3 separate regions of the Homo sapiens genome follow, and all the other regions are linked to region 1. The links are contacts of gene promoters, found by promoter capture Hi-C in human tissues and cell types (Jung and others, 2019). All regions are on one chromosome and are shown on one strand. Each heading gives the region's core, a stretch centred on a gene start or on the middle of the fragment in contact. The rest is flanking DNA. Distances are from core to core; before and after follow the strand shown. Region 1 holds the start of KCTD7 (potassium channel tetramerization domain containing 7). Region 2 has its middle 29 kb from the start of TPST1. Region 3 overlaps SBDS (SBDS ribosome maturation factor).

What was found. The method cuts DNA at HindIII sites, captures the fragments that hold promoters and counts their contacts. A contact is called where the count stands out against the background at its distance.
Region 2: a contact is called between a fragment that was not itself captured here and the fragment with the promoter of KCTD7 in region 1, in 1 of the 25 tissues and cell types used here (IMR-90 fibroblasts).
Region 3: a contact is called between a fragment that was not itself captured here and the fragment with the promoter of KCTD7 in region 1, in 2 of the 25 tissues and cell types used here (aorta and dorsolateral prefrontal cortex).

Annotation. Positions count from the first base shown.
Region 1 is chr7:66,626,185-66,631,310 of GRCh38, reverse strand. It overlaps KCTD7 (potassium channel tetramerization domain containing 7), which reads right to left and starts at 2,430. Exons shown (of 4, transcript NM_153033.5): 1 at 2,103-2,430. The coding sequence starts at 2,246. RefSeq lists silencers at 2,070-2,639, 3,650-3,849. The HindIII fragment of the contact is 13,354 bases long and covers 1-5,126 here.
Region 2 is chr7:66,174,065-66,179,190 of GRCh38, reverse strand. No RefSeq gene overlaps it. Among named protein-coding and RNA genes, the nearest start is that of TPST1, 29 kb to the left of the region's middle. RefSeq lists a silencer at 1,089-1,252. The HindIII fragment of the contact is 7,445 bases long and covers 1-5,126 here.
Region 3 is chr7:66,984,668-66,989,793 of GRCh38, reverse strand. It overlaps SBDS (SBDS ribosome maturation factor), which reads left to right. Exons shown (of 5, transcript NM_016038.4): 5 at 1,295-2,114. The coding sequence ends at 1,423. Among named protein-coding and RNA genes, the nearest start is that of SBDS, 8.4 kb to the left of the region's middle. The HindIII fragment of the contact is 6,084 bases long and covers 105-5,126 here.

The DNA.
Region 1 (5,126 bases), core at 1,181-3,680:
AGCCATGCATCCTTTTCAATATTACATCTCTCCTGCTCCAGTGAAAGTCTGCTTATCTACACAGTACCTTTCCCAGCTTTCAAATCCTTTGTGAAATAAAATAGGGTACAAATACATTAAATAAAGCTGACCCAGGGCCTTGTGCAGCGCCTGGCTCAAATAAAGACCCAAAATTCACCGAATGAATGAAAGAAATAGACAGGTAGTTACACTTCCGTGTGTGTATGCACTGTTACTCTTCTGCACCCACAGGACATGAAAATGCCTTGCGCTTATTCTGTAGGTCCTCTAAAACCATTTTATGTGTATATCAAGGGCTCAGATATCATTTTGGAATAATAATACTTAACATTTCTGGAGCTCTTTAAACCTTTTCTAAAGATACTTCATACCAATCCAAGTGCTTGCTCCATATTAGAGATGAGAGGATTGAAGCAGAGAGGACAAAAGCCATCGGAAACAGTTTTGGAGCTCACATGGGGCAATGTCATCAGTGGGGGGAACTGGTGGTGGGGCCCTGGTCTGCAATCTGTGGTCTTGTGCTCTTTCCCTCAAACCATATCATTTTCCCAATGACAGTGCACAAAAAAATAGCACCACTGTGACTAATGACTTTTTTCCAATTGCAGAGATTACTTCTAGATTTTTGCTCATTTTCCCATGGCATTGTGTGTATGGGGCTTGCAATCCCAGCACAACACTATCTGCTTCCCAAGAGCATCACCTAGCCCAGCCTGTTGAGGGCCTCAATTGTTGAGGGCCTCCATTGTCCTGGGACTCCGCATACCACATGCTCCTGGATCTGGCACTACCTTAGTCCCTGCCTCCTAGAAGCCATCTTCGGTGTCCAGTAATGCTTCACCTTCCCTCCTCTTTATTTTTTATTTGTAGAGATGGAGTCTGTGTTGCCCAAGCTGGTCCCAGACTCCTGGCCTCAAACCATCCTCCTGCCTTGACCTCCCAAAGTGCTGGGATTACAAGTGTAAGCCACCACACCTGGCATCGTTTCCCTTCTCTTGCTTTTTTTGTTTTTGTTTGTTTGTAGGTACGGTCTTACTCTATCACACCCAGGCTGGAGTACAGTGGCACAATTACAGCTCACTGCAGCCTCAACCTCCAGGGCTCAAGCAATCCTCCCAACTCACCTTCCTGAGCACCTGGGACTACAGGCACACACCACCAAGCCTGGCTAATTTTCATTTTTGTAGAGGCAGGGTCTCACTGTTGCCCTGACTAGTCTCTAACTGCTGGGATCAAGCAATCCTCCCACCTCAGCATCCCAAACTGCTGAGATTACAGATGTGAGCCACCATGCCTGGTATCTTCTCCCGTCTCTTGAGTGTCATTTCAGGTGTTGACATGATAGTATCACACACATTAAGTAAGACCCGTGGAAGCCCCTGTGCACCAGAGCACAGCAGCCTGTGAGTGAAAGCCATGGGATGCCAGGTGACCGTGCCTACATCTATGAACTGGCCTGCCCCTTATGTGCAGACAGCTCCTTGCCTTGTTCCTTAGGTAGCTGGAGACTAGGTGTGGGCAACCACTACAGCATCCTGTTGGATTCTCTAGAAGACATCTTTTTCTTTTCTTTTTTTTATTCATCCAACCCAAAATGCCTTTGTTTTTCCAGTCGTAGTAGGGACGGGGCCTCGCTATGTTGCCCAGGCTGGCCTCCAACTCCTGCCCTCAAGCGATCCTCCCTCCCAATGTGTTGGGATTACAGGCTCGAGCTACGGTGCCTGGTCAGACACACCATCAGCTCTCGGGGCTCCAGGGTCCCCCTCCCACGGCCCACCCTCCCTCCTGTCTTCGGTAAAAGTGGGACATGGCGATGGGAGTAAATCACCCCAGTGACTACTGGGCGGAGGGTGTAGGGGGTGGGGAAGCACACCTAGTGGGTGTAATTGACAGGGGTTGAAGGTGGGTGGGTAGGGGTGCAGGTGGGCGGGGGAGTTGCAGGTGGGCGGGGGAGGGGCGCAAGTCCGCGGGCCCCGCCCCCAACCCCGGCCCCGCCCACCCGCCGAGGACCGCTATGCCCCGCGCCCGCTTCTCCCCCGCGCCCCTCCCCACGCCCCGCGGCCCGCCGCCCGCCCGGGTACCTCCTGTGGCAGCAGGGGCAGCGCGTGCCCCGCCTGCGTGGCCGTCGGCGTGGCCGGCTCCAGAAAGTCGTCTTCGGCGTCAGAGCTGGACATGGCACCGTCCTGACGACGGCTGTCTGGCTCCCGCCCCGTGACTACCACCATCCCTCTGGCTCTGGGCAGTGGGCGCGGCTTCGGGCGGGCGGAGGCGGCGGCCCCGGGCACTCCCTACCGCCGAGCAGCGCCTGGCATGACGCGGCCGGCTGCGGGCTGGCCGGAGGGGGGCGAGAGGCAGTGCGCAGGCGGGAGGGCGGTGGCTCCCTCAACGCCGACCCGCTCGCGCCCAGCTGGGGCCTGACCCGACCGCCTCCCGCTACTGGCCGACGCCGCGCTGGTTCCGCCCTGATTGGCAGGAAGCTCGCCCAGTCGAAGAGCAGGCAGCGCCAGCGGCCGGCGCCTGAGTGGTCCCTGGGTTGGGGGGGGGGGGGGGGGGCGGCCTGCGAGCCTGCCGTGCACTGATTGGTCCTCTGGCCAGCGGGCGCGCCCTCTCCGAGAGACCCGGCGGTGGTGCGCCGCTACGCTCTCATAACTGGGCGTCGGAGTCTGCCGTGAAGAGGGTTCTCACCCGCGTCAGGGTAGACGCCTTATCCCTTCACACAGGGGGTCACGACTTACTCGTGTGTCTGGCCCCAGAGCAGCGGGTCCTTGTCTCCTCAATGGAAGGCCTGAGCAGCCTTTCCTGGAGGATGTGGCGGGAGGAGGGCTGAGGTGGCTGCGGACACGCCACCGCGGCTGGCCCCGCCCCGAGCCGCAGGGCACCGCCCGGGTGTCCAGTTCTTCCTCACTCGCTCGCGCAGAAATCCGAACGAGAAAACCCAAAATAGGAGCGCTTGAGTTCAATGAATAATGACAGTGACTCCCCACCGTGACCGTTTTTCCACCGGGACACACAGATGGAGACAGGCCCTTCCCCAAGATGCTCCCGGCTCCCTGGGAGGCGGAGTCCAGCCCTAGAGGCTCTATCAGCGCAGGGAGTCTCCTGGGGGTCAAGGTTCTTAGCCCGTTCAAGCCATTTTCTCCTTTCTTTAAAAGACAAAGTCTCACTCTGTTACCCAGGCTGAAGTGCAGTGGCGCAATCATAGCTCATTGCAACCCCTGGGCTCAAGCAATCCTCCCGCCCCAGCCTCCCGAGTAGCTGGGACCACAGACGCGCACCACCACACTCAGCTGATTTTTTAAAATTTTGGCCGGGCGCAGTGGCTCACGCCTGTAATCCTGGCTCTTTGGTAAGCGATGCGGGTGGATCACCTGAGGTCAGGAAGTTGAGACCAGCCTGGCCAACATGGTGAAACCTCATCTCTACTAAAAATACAAAATTAGCCAGGCATGGTGGCACACCTGCAATCCCAGCTACTAGGGAGGCTGAGGCAGGAGAATCGCTTGAACCCAGGAGATGGAGATTGCAGTGAGGCGAGATCACGGCCACTATACTCCAACCTGGGCAACAAGAGCGAAACTCCGTCTCAAAAAAGAAAAAAAAATTTTTTTTTTTTTTTTTTTTTAAGAAATGGGGTCTTGTCATGTTGCCCAGGCTGGTCTCAAACTCCTTGCCTCAAGCTGTCCTCCCTCGTCAGCCTCCCAAAGTGCTGGGATCGCAGGCGTGTGCAACCATGCTTCTCCTTTTCAAACCGTTTTCACACCCAGTTCCTCATCTCATTCTCACAGTGTAGTGACAGAAAAGAAAACTGAGTCGTAGATTAGACAGCTCCAGGATGGCAAAGATGAGCTGGTGGCATAGCACTTCCTCTGTTAGACCATCGCACTCCCAGCTGCAGGAGTGTCCTAGGTCTGTGTTTTCTCCAACTTCAGTTGCATCAAAATCCCTGGAGGGAGACCTTGTTTAAACACAGATGAAAAGGAATGAAATCACGTCATCTGCAGCAACGTGGATGGACGTCATTATGTTAAGTGAAATAAGCCAGGCACAGAAAGACATAAATATTGCATGTTCTTATCTGTGGCAGCTAAAACAAATCGATCTCATAAATTTAGAGAGTAGAAAGAAACCAGAGGCTGGGAACGGTTGGGTGAGAAATGAAGAGATTTAGGTTAATGAAGGACATACAGTTAGATAAAAAGGTTTATGTTCTATGGTTCAAAAGCAGAGTAGTGACTATAATTAACAACAATGGATTGTATATTTCAAAATAGCTGGAAGACACTTTGGGAAGCCAAGGCGGGAGGATACCTTGAGCCCAGGAGGTCAAGACCAGCCTGGACAACGTAGTTAGACCCTGCCTCTACAAAAAATAAAATATATATATAGCTGAGTGTGGTGGCTCACATCTGTAGTCCCAGCTACTAGGAGGGTAAAGCAAGGAGGATCATGCGAGCCAGGGAGGTCGAAGCTGCAGTGAGCTGTGATTGCACCACTGCATTCCAGTGCCTAGGTGACAGAGACTCTGTTTCAACAACAACAATAACAAAAATCTAGAAGAGAGGACTTGAATTGTTTCCAACACATGAGTAAATTCCCAAAGTGATGGATACCACTAATGCTCTGACTTAATCATTACACATCCTATGCACGTAACAAAATATCACAGATATCCCATACATATGTAAAATATTATGTATCCATAAAAAGTTAAAATAAAAAAATAAACAGAGCCCCAGTCCCACCCTCAGAGAATCTGAGTTGATCAGTCTTGGGTGAAGCACTTGGTAATTTGCATTCCTAACAAATCCCAGGATAATTATGATGCTGCTGGTCCATGAACCACACTTTGAGTAACACTGCCCTAAAGGAGGCCCCTTGAGGCCCTCTCTTGTCTTCCATTATACTCTAGTCTTTCTCAAAAATACCTGTAACAAAATTTCCTCTTTCAATCCTTATGCCAATTGGGATGTTTCAGCTGTACCAAGAAACTGCAACCAAAAGTAGTTTAAGCAGTCAGGGAATTTTATTTTATTTTTATCTTATTTATTTATTTATTTTGAGACAGAGTCTCTGTCGCCCAGGCTGGAGGGCAGTGGCGCAATCTC
Region 2 (5,126 bases), core at 1,459-3,958, 450 kb after region 1:
GTCTCACTCTGTCACCTAGGCTGGAGTGCAGTGGCATGATCTCAGCTCACTGCAACCTCTGCCTCCCGGGTTCAAGCAATTCTCCCTGCCTCAGCCTCCCAAGTAGCTGGGATTACAGGCATGTGCCAACACACCCAGCTAATTTTTGTATTTTTTGTAGAGATGGGGTTTCTCCATGTTGGCCAGGCTGGTCTCGAACTCCTGACCTCAGGTGATCTGCTCGTCTCCACCCCACAAAGTGCTGCGATTACAGGCGTGAGTCACTGTGCCCATTTGAGAAAAGGAATCACTAGCTATGGTAGCCACAGCCTTACAGAATGTATTTCTTTTTTTTTTTTTTTTTGAGACGGAGTTTTGCTTTTTCACCCAGGCTAGAGTGAAGTGGCACGATCTTGACTCACTGCAATCTTTACTCCCCAGCTTCCAGTGATTCTCCTGCCTCAGACTTCCCAGTAGCTGGGATTACAGGCGTGCGTCACCACGCCTGGCTAATTTCTGTATTTTTAGTAGAGACAGGATTTCACCATGTTGGCCAGGCTAGTCTCAAACTCCTGACCTCAGGTGATCCACCTGCCTCAGCATCCCAAAGTGCTGGGATTACAGGCATGAGCCACTGTGCCCGGTCTTGTGAGCTATTTTGAAGAATTTTCTGCCTTATGAGTCTTGCCACTACCCCATCCCCCAAGTTAGAAGCCAGGAAGCATGATTCTCCAGCCTCCCTTGCAGCTAAGGAATGGTCATGTGACTTAGGCTAGGTCATGTGACTGAGGCTCCACTAATCCAACATACTGTTGTGATACTTTAGAAATAAACATGAGCCAGGCATGGTGGTGCAACCTGTAATCCCATCACTTTGGGAAGCATAGGTGAGAGGATCGCTGGAGCCCAGAAGTTCAAGGCTGCAGTGAGCTATGATCATGCTACTGCACCCTAGCCTGGGCAACACAGTAAGACCCTGGTCTCTTTTTTTTTTTTTTTTTTGAGATGGGGTCTTGCTCTGTCTCCCAGGCTGAAGTGCAGTGGTGTGATCTTGGCCTACTGCAAGCTCCGTCTCCCGGGTTCATGCCATTCTCCTGCCTCAGCCTCCCAAGTAGCTGGGACTACAGGCACCCACCACCACGCCCGGCCAATTTTTTGTATTTTTAGTAGAGACGGGGTTTCACCATGTTAACCAGGATGATCTTGATCTCCTGATCTCGTGATCCACCCGTCTTGGCCTCTTAAAGTGCTGGGATTACAGGCCTCAGCCACCACACCCAGTCCCAGACCCTGGTCTCTTAAAAAAAAAAAAAAATGGCCAGCCACAGTGGCTCACGCCTGTAATCCCAGCACTTTGGGAGGCCAAGGCAGGTGGATCACGAGGTCAGGAGATCAAGACCATCCTGGCTAACACGGTGAAACTCCGTCTCTACTAAAAATAGAAAAAATTAGCTGGGTGTGGTGGTGGATGCCTGTAGTCCCAGTTACTCAGGAGGCTGAGGCAGGAGAATGGCATGAACCCGGGAGACAGAGCTTGCAGTGAGCCCAGATTGCGCCACTGCACTTCAGCCTGGGCAACAGAGCGAGACTCCGTCTCAGAAAAAAAAAAAAAAAAAGAGGCCAGGCACGGTGGCTCACGCCTGTAATCCCAGCACTTTGGGAGTCCGAAGCGGGCAGATCATGAGGTCAAGAGATCAAGACCATCCTGGCCAACATGGTGAAACCCTTTCTCTACTAAAAGTACAAAAATTAGCTGGGCATTGTGGCACATGCCTGTCTGTAGTCCCAGCTACCTGGGAGGCTGAGGCAGGAGAATTGCTTGAACCTGGAAGGCGGAGGTTGTAGTGAGGCAAGATTGTGCCTCTGCACTCCAATCTGGCAACACAGTGAGACTCTGTCTCAAAAAAAAAAAAAAAAAGAATTAATTAAATAAACAACATGAAAAAGCAGGCTCTATGTGGAGTCCATCCATCTGCTGGTGAGGATGACCACAGCAATGTCCAGCTCTGGGGGCTGGCAATAGCTGTGAGGTTGAGTTCCAGATACACATGTGGCATTGGTGCTGGTGACAGTGGTGGATGCAGTGGTTTCTGTCCCTGGCATCAGTGCACATTGGCTCAGTGTCCTGCACTTGGAAGGCTGGTTCTCTCATCATTTCAGTTTTGCAACGTGGTCTGGGCACTGTTCCTGGGAGCCCAGGGCCCTAGTGGTTCTGAGAGTTCCCCAGTGCCTGATAATAAATGCTTTTTCGGCTGGGTGTGGTGGCTCATGCCTGTAATCACAGCACTTTGGGAGGCTGAGGCAGGAGAAGTGCTTGAGGCCAGGAGTTTGAGACCAGCCTGGGCAACATAGCGAGATCCTCTTTCTACAAAAAATGGAAGAGAATAGGTGGGTGTGGTGGTGTGTGCCTATAGTCACAGCTACTCTGGAGGCGGAAGCAGCAGGATGGCTTGAGCCCAGGAGTCTGAGGCTGCCATGGGCTATGATTGCACCACTGCATGCCAGCCAGCCTAGGTGGTAGAGACCCTGTCTCAAATAAATAAATACCTGTAATCCCAGCACTTTGGGAGGCCAAGGTGGGCAGATCACCTGAGCTAAGGAATTCGAGACCACCCTGGGCAACATGGTGAAACCCCGTCTCTACTAAAATACAAAAAATTAGCCAGGCATTGTGGCAGGTGCCTGTAATCCCTGCCTACTTGGGAGGCTGAGGCAGGAGAATCACTTGAGCCCCGGAGGCAGAGGTTGCAGTGAGCCAAGATCACACCATGGCACTCCAGCTTGGGCTACCGAGTGAGACTCCATCTCAAATAAATAAATAAATAAATAAATTTTTTTTGAAAAGTGCCTTTTCTGTGCTAACTAGAGTATGTGCTGATGTTTGTAACTAGGAAACTTAACTGATACAGGAGGCAAAACTAAGTTAGGGAAGAAAGGTATAATCCAGAATAAATTGTAGGTATTATCTAGACTGACTTTAGGCCAGGTGCAGTGGCTCACAACTGTAATCCCAGCACTGGGGAGGCCAAAACGGGCAGATAACTTGAACCCAGGAGTTTGAGACCAGCCTGGGCAACATGGCGAGACCCCCATCTCTACAAAAAATACAAAAATTGGCCGGGCACGGTGGTTCACGCCTGTAATCCCAGCACTTTGGGAGGCTGAGGCGGGTGGATCACAAGGTCAGGAGATCGAGACCATCCTGGCTAACATGGTGAAACCCCGTCTCTACTAAAAATGCAAAAAATTAGCTGGGTGTGGTGGTGGGCGCCTGTAGTCCCAGCTACTCGGGAGGCTGAGGCAGGAGAATGGCGTGAACCCGGGAGACGGAGCTTGCAGTGAGCCAGGATTGCGCCACTGCACTCCAGCCTGGGTGACAGAACGAGACTCTGTCTCAAAAAAAAAAAAAGAAAAGAAAAAAATACAAAAATTAGCTGGGTGTGGTGGCAAACGCCGTTAGTCCCAGCTACTCGGGAAGCTGAGGGGGAAGGATTATTTGAGCCTAGGAAGCAGAGGTTTCAGTGAGCCGTGATTGCACCACTGCACTCCAGCCTGGGCAAGAGTAAGACCCTGTCTCAAAAAAGTGAAATAAAATGAAGTGCGATCCACGTGGGTCAGCAGCACCTGGGGGCTTGTTAGAACCACTTAATGTCAATATCACTCCAGTCCTGCTGAATCCACATTCGCTTTTTTTTTTTTTTTTTTTTTGAGACGGAGTCTTGCTCTGTCACCAGGCTGGAGTGCAGTGGCGTGCTATCAGCTCACTGCAACCTCTGCCTCTCAGGTTCAAGCAGTTCCCCTGCCTCAGCCTCCCAAGTAGCTGGGATTACAGGCACGTGCCACCACGCCCGGCTAATTTTTTGTATTTTAGTAGAGACGGGTTTTCACCATGTTGGCCAAGATGGTCTCAATCTCCTGACCTCGTGATCCACCCGCCTAGGCCTCCCAAAGTGCTGGGATTACAGCTGTGAGCCAGTGTGCCCGGCCCACATGCGCATTTTAATGAGATATCCAGGGAATTTGTTAACACAGATCAAGAAGCAGTCACTGCAGTGACTGCCAGCCCCAGCTGCACTTTGAAACCATTTGGGGACCATTTAAGAAAATATTGATGTCCATTTACATCCTCCATGACATCAGTTGATTCAGGTAAGAATCATCAGTGGAGACCAAAACCACAGGGCAAAAGGATGTGGGAGAGCAGGTTATTCCTACAACTCAAAGCTTTTCCCCATGGACCACTTATTGATTACAAAGAGGGAAAAATTACCTGTACAACAGATAACTCTGGCAGACACCACATAATAAGTGACAAGCTTAGCACAAATAGTGGGACAACGTGACAAGATGAACCTCCCACTGTGATGCCACGAGAAGATCACAACGTCATCCGTCTCACAACGAGAGAGAATTTCTGCCCAAAATGATGAACTTGAATCTAGTAATGACAGGGAAAAAAACAGACAAATCCAAATTGAGAGATAATCTGTAAAACAGATGCCTGGACTCTTGAAAAATGTCAGTTTCTTTTTTCTTTTTTTTTTTTGAGACTGATTCTTGCTCTGTCACCCAGGCTAGAGTGCAGGGACGCAATCTCGGCTCACTGCAACCTCTGCCTCCCGGGTTCAAGCGATTCTCCTGCCTCAGCCTCCCGAGTAGCTGGGGTTGCAGGCATGGGCCACTATGCCTGGCTAATTTTATATTTTTAGTAGAGATGGGGTTTCACCATGTTGGCCAGGCTGGTCTCGAACTCCTGACCTCAAGTGATCTGCCCGCCTTGGCCTCCTGAAGTGCTGGAATTACAGGCTTGAGCCACTGAGCCTGGCCCAAAAATGTCAGTTTCATGAGAATCAAAAAAGACTGGGTGCCCGTGCCATGATGTGTGCCTGTGTCTTAGCTACTCAGGGGGTTGATGTGGGAGAATCGCTTGAGCCCAGGAGTAAAAGTCCAGCCTAGACAACATAGCAAGACCCCATCTCTATATAACAAAATAAATAAAATAAAATAAATAATATTAAAATTTTTTTTTGAGACAGCGTCTCACTCTGTTGCCCAAGCTGGAGCTGGAGTGCAGTGGTATGGTCACAGCTCTCTGCAGCATCAAACTACTATGTTCAAGTAATCTTCCTCGCTCAGCTTCCCGTAGC
Region 3 (5,126 bases), core at 1,897-4,396, 360 kb before region 1:
ACTGGAAAGGAATCCCTAGAAGCCTGATAAAGCATTGTTTGGGGTATGTCTGTGAGGGTGTTTCCAGAGGATATTAGTGTGTGAACCTGGTGACACTAAACACAGAACATTTTAAAGAAGCAGCGAAACCATTATGTCCTTATGACCTCACCCCACAGCTTCAAACACAGTGTAAATTGAGCTGTCTACAAATTCATGTTTTCAAGGCTTTGCAGCTTATTTATTTATTTATTTATTTATTTATTTTTGAGACAGGGTTTCACTCTTATTGCCCAAGCTAGAGTGCAATGGCGTGATCTCAGCTCACTGCAACCTCTGCCTCCCGGGTTCAAGCGATTCTCCTGCCTCAGCCTCCCGAGTAGCTGGGATTACAGGCATGTGCCACCTCGCCCAGCTAATTTTGTATTTTTAGTAGAGACGGGGTCTCTCCATGTTGGTCAGGCTGGTCTCGAACTCCCGACCTCAGGTGATCCACCCGCCTCGGCCTCCCAAAGTGCTGGGATTACAGGCTTGAGCCACCGCGCCCTGTCTGCAGCTTCTTTTTAAAAGTAAATGAGCTGTAGAGAAGTGTTGAGTATGTGAGTATCCACTGTAGATGTGAACTAACTCATCTGACACTACTTGAAGTTCTAAAATCTTTGCAAAACTGTACACATGGGCCAGGCACAGTGGCTCGTGCCTGTAATCCCAGCACTTTGGGAGGCCAAGGTGAGCAGATAACATGGTGAAACCCTATCTCTACTAAAAATACAAAAAATAAGCCAGGTGTGGTGGTGGGTTCCTGTAATCCCAGTTTCTTGGGAGGCTGAGGCAGGAGAATCACTTGAACCTGGGAGGCGGAGGCTGCAGTGAGCCAAGATCACACCACTGCACTCTATCTCAAAAAAAAATAAATTAACATACACATGGTGTCTACATAAGTCTTCACATTGCTTTTTCTCCTTCATACGTGGAGGTGACTTTACTGAGCTATAAAATGTAATGCTAAATTTTAGTATGAGAAGAATCAGAGTTTTCTAGTTTGTCCCTTCCATTTACAGCTGAAGAATCAGAATAAGTGTTTAAACATAGGGATTAATGCCTTGTCACAGGGGGCTACATGGACACTTGAGGGCAGAGGCTAAACTGGAACCCAGTGTGCCGCCCTACCCATTGTCTTATCTATTGCACCATAGAACTGTGGTATTATTAGAGATCTGGACAGCATTGTGCTTGCCTCAAAGGAAGTTAAAGCTGAGTTTATTCTGTGTCTTGCTCATCCTCATGTGGTAATCTGCTACGTTAAATGTTTCAGGTATGTCTGATTGACCCGGGCTGCTTCCGAGAAATTGATGAGCTAATAAAAAAGGAAACTAAAGGCAAAGGTTCTTTGGAAGTACTCAATCTGAAAGATGTAGAAGAAGGAGATGAGAAATTTGAATGACACCCATCAATCTCTTCACCTCTAAAACACTAAAGTGTTTCCGTTTCCGACGGCACTGTTTCATGTCTGTGGTCTGCCAAATACTTGCTTAAACTATTTGACATTTTCTATCTTTGTGTTAACAGTGGACACAGCAAGGCTTTCCTACATAAGTATAATAATGTGGGAATGATTTGGTTTTAATTATAAACTGGGGTCTAAATCCTAAAGCAAAATTGAAACTCCAAGATGCAAAGTCCAGAGTGGCATTTTGCTACTCTGTCTCATGCCTTGATAGCTTTCCAAAATGAAAGTTACTTGAGGCAGCTCTTGTGGGTGAAAAGTTATTTGTACAGTAGAGTAAGATTATTAGGGGTATGTCTATACAACAAAAGGGGGGGTCTTTCCTAAAAAAGAAAACATATGATGCTTCATTTCTACTTAATGGAACTTGTGTTCTGAGGGTCATTATGGTATCGTAATGTAAAGCTTGGATGATGTTCCTGATTATCTGAGAAACAGATATAGAAAAATTGTGCCGGACTTACCTTTCATTGAACATGCTGCCATAACTTAGATTATTCTTGGTTAAAAAATAAAAGTCACTTATTTCTAATTCTTAAAGTTTATAATATATATTAATATAGCTAAAATTGTATGTAATCAATAAAACCACTCTTATGTTTATTAAACTATGGCTTGTGTTTCTAGACAACTTCCTAACTCCCTTTCTTTTCTCTGCCTGTGTCTGTGGTAGGGTTAGGGAGTTGTCAGGAGAACTGAATAAGTCCATATGAAGAGTGCTTAGAACAGGGCCTGTACTTGTAAACACCTGAAAAATTTTTGCTAACACTTGGGATGTAATTGGGAAGAATTATTTTAGTATTTAAACACTTAAATGGACAAGATGCAAGCTTTTAAAAATCTACTTCAAGGCCAGGGGAGGTGACTCACACCTGCAATCCCAACACTTTGGGAGGCCGAGGCAGGCGGATCACCTGAGGTCAGGAGTTTGAGACCAGCCTGACCCACATGGTGAAACCCTGTCTCTACTAAAAATACAAAAATTAGCCAGGCATGGTGGTGCACGCCTGTAGTCCCAGCTACTCGGGAGGCTGAAGCAGGAGAATCACTTGAACCCAGGAGGCAGAGGTTGCAATGAGCTGAGAATGTGCCACTGCACTCCAGTCTAGGTGACAGAGTGAAACTCGGTCTCCAAAAAAAAGAAAAAAAATCTATTTCAAAAGATACATTCTAGAATATAAATTAAATTCACTCAAAATAAACATACAGATGTATTTCTGGACAGCAGTTTTTAACTGAAGACAGGCTTCTTGACTTGAAAAGGTACTGATTGGTTTATAAGCACACACAACTCCCTGCTAATACAAGCTCTCAGAAATGTCCCTTTAGTTTAAAATAACTAACATTGAGGTTATAAAGTCAAAATTTTTTCTTATATTGTTAACAAAATACATTGATAACATGGGAATGAACACTTTTTCTGTTAATGCTAAAGCTAGGCTGCTGTTTTGATACAGCTATTTGTTCAATATATCAATAGTTCTATCTTAGTAAAAAAATATAAACATTTAATAGAACATTTCCTTAAGATTTTCTGGGGCCAGGCGCAGTGGCTCCCACCGGTAATCCCAGCACTTTGGGAGGCCAAGGCGGGTGAATCACTTGAGCTTGGGAGTTTGAGACCAGCCTGGGCAACACAGTGAAACCCCGTCTCTACAAAAATACAAAAAATTAGGCATGGTGGTGTGCACCTGTTTTCCCAACTACTTGGGAGGCTGAGGCAGGAGGATCACTTGAGCCCGGGAGGCGGAGGTTGCAGTGAGCTAAAATCACCCCACTGCACTCCAGCCTGGACAACAGAGCCAGACCCCATCTCAAAACAAAGATTTTCTGATTCTGAATATTCATTTTTTCTAAAAAGCTGGAACTTCAAGAAATGTCAAATGTGGATCACATCTGAGTCATCATCTAAACTTATTTTTTTAATTTTATACTAATTTCATTATCAAAGAACTTAACATTTTTTGGTTCATGATCATCTTCCCAGTACCACAGCCATAATGGATTATTTTAAGGATTGGTTTGACTTTTTCAATGCAAGCTGATGGTGTGTGCATTTGGTCACAATGACATTTCAGACTTAGGCCTCTTCTTTTACCACAGTTCTTTTCTCTGAAGCTTCCCTTGTACCCCATACACAAGTATTTGCTCCAGTTGCTGGAAGCCAGTACTCTACTTAAATTCCTTCATGGGTCTGGATTTATTCAAACTTGTATTAGAGCTGCTTAATTATCTGCCTTCAGGCTAGACTGTGAGCTCCTTAAGGGCAAGGGACTTAGCAATGTGTGTGTATATCCCACCATGCTTTGGACCTAGCAGATGTGGAGTAAATGTCTGAAATAATAAACACGTGGACCAGGCACAGTGGCTCATGCCTGTAATCCCAGCACTTTGGGAGGCCCAGGTGGGCAGATCACCTGAGGTCAGGAGTTCAAGACCAGCCTGGCCAAAATGACGAAACCCAGTCTCTATTAAAAATACAAAAATTAGCTGGCTGTGGTTGCTCACGCCTGTAATACCAAGACTTTGGGAGGCCAAGGCAGGCAGATCACGAGGTCAAGAGATCGAGACCATCCTGGCCAACATGCTGAAACCCTGTCTCTACTAAAAATACAAAAATTAGCTGGGCACGGTGGCGCATGCCTCTAGTCCCAGCTACTCAGGAGGCTGAGGCAGGAGAATCACTTGAACCTGGTAGGCAGAGGTTGCAGTGAGCCACTGCACTCCAGCCTGGGTGACAGAGCGAGACGCTGACTCAAAAAAAAAAAGAAATTAGCTGGGCATGGTGGCGGCCGCCTGTAATCCCAGCTGCTCAAGAGGCTGAGGCTAGAGAATCTCTTGAACCTAGGAGGCAGAGGTTGCAGTGAGCCAAGATTCTGCCACTACACTCCAGCCTGGGTGACAAGAGCAAAACTCCATCTCAAAAAAAATATATTTTATATCAGAACTAAATGTAAACATAAAACTATCAGATACTGGCTTACACCTGTAATCTCAACACTTGGGGAGGCCAAGGCTGCCGGATCACGATGTCAGGAGATGGAGACCATCCTGGCTAACACGGTGAAACCCCGTCTCTACTAAAAATACAAAAAATTAGCCGGGAGTGGTGGCACGTGTCTGTAGTCCCAGCTACTCGGGAGGCTGAGGCAGGAGAATCACTTGACCCTGGAAGATGGAGATTGCAGTGAGCCAAGATCACACCACTGCACTCCAGCCTGGGCGACAGAGCGAGACTCCATCTCAAAAAACAAACAAACAACAACAACAAAAAACTGTGAGTTAGTAGAAAATATAAGGAAATATTTAACCTAAGGGTTAAAAGACTTTCTTAAGAAAAACAGAAACCTAAAAATTATCAAGGAAAATACCAACAGATTTAACTACATAAAAATGTAAAATTTCAGAATGACAGAAGACACTTTAAAGAAAGTTTAAAGAGTCCAGGCACAGTGGCTCATGCCTATAATCCCAGCACTTTGGGAGACCAAGGCAGGAGCATCGCTTGAGTCCAGGAGTTCAAGACCAGCCTGAGCAACATAGCAAGACTCTGTCTGTACAAAAATTAAAGAATTAACTGGGTGTAGGCTGGGTGCAGTGGCTCACGCCTGTAATGCCAGCACTTGGGAGGTTGAGGCGG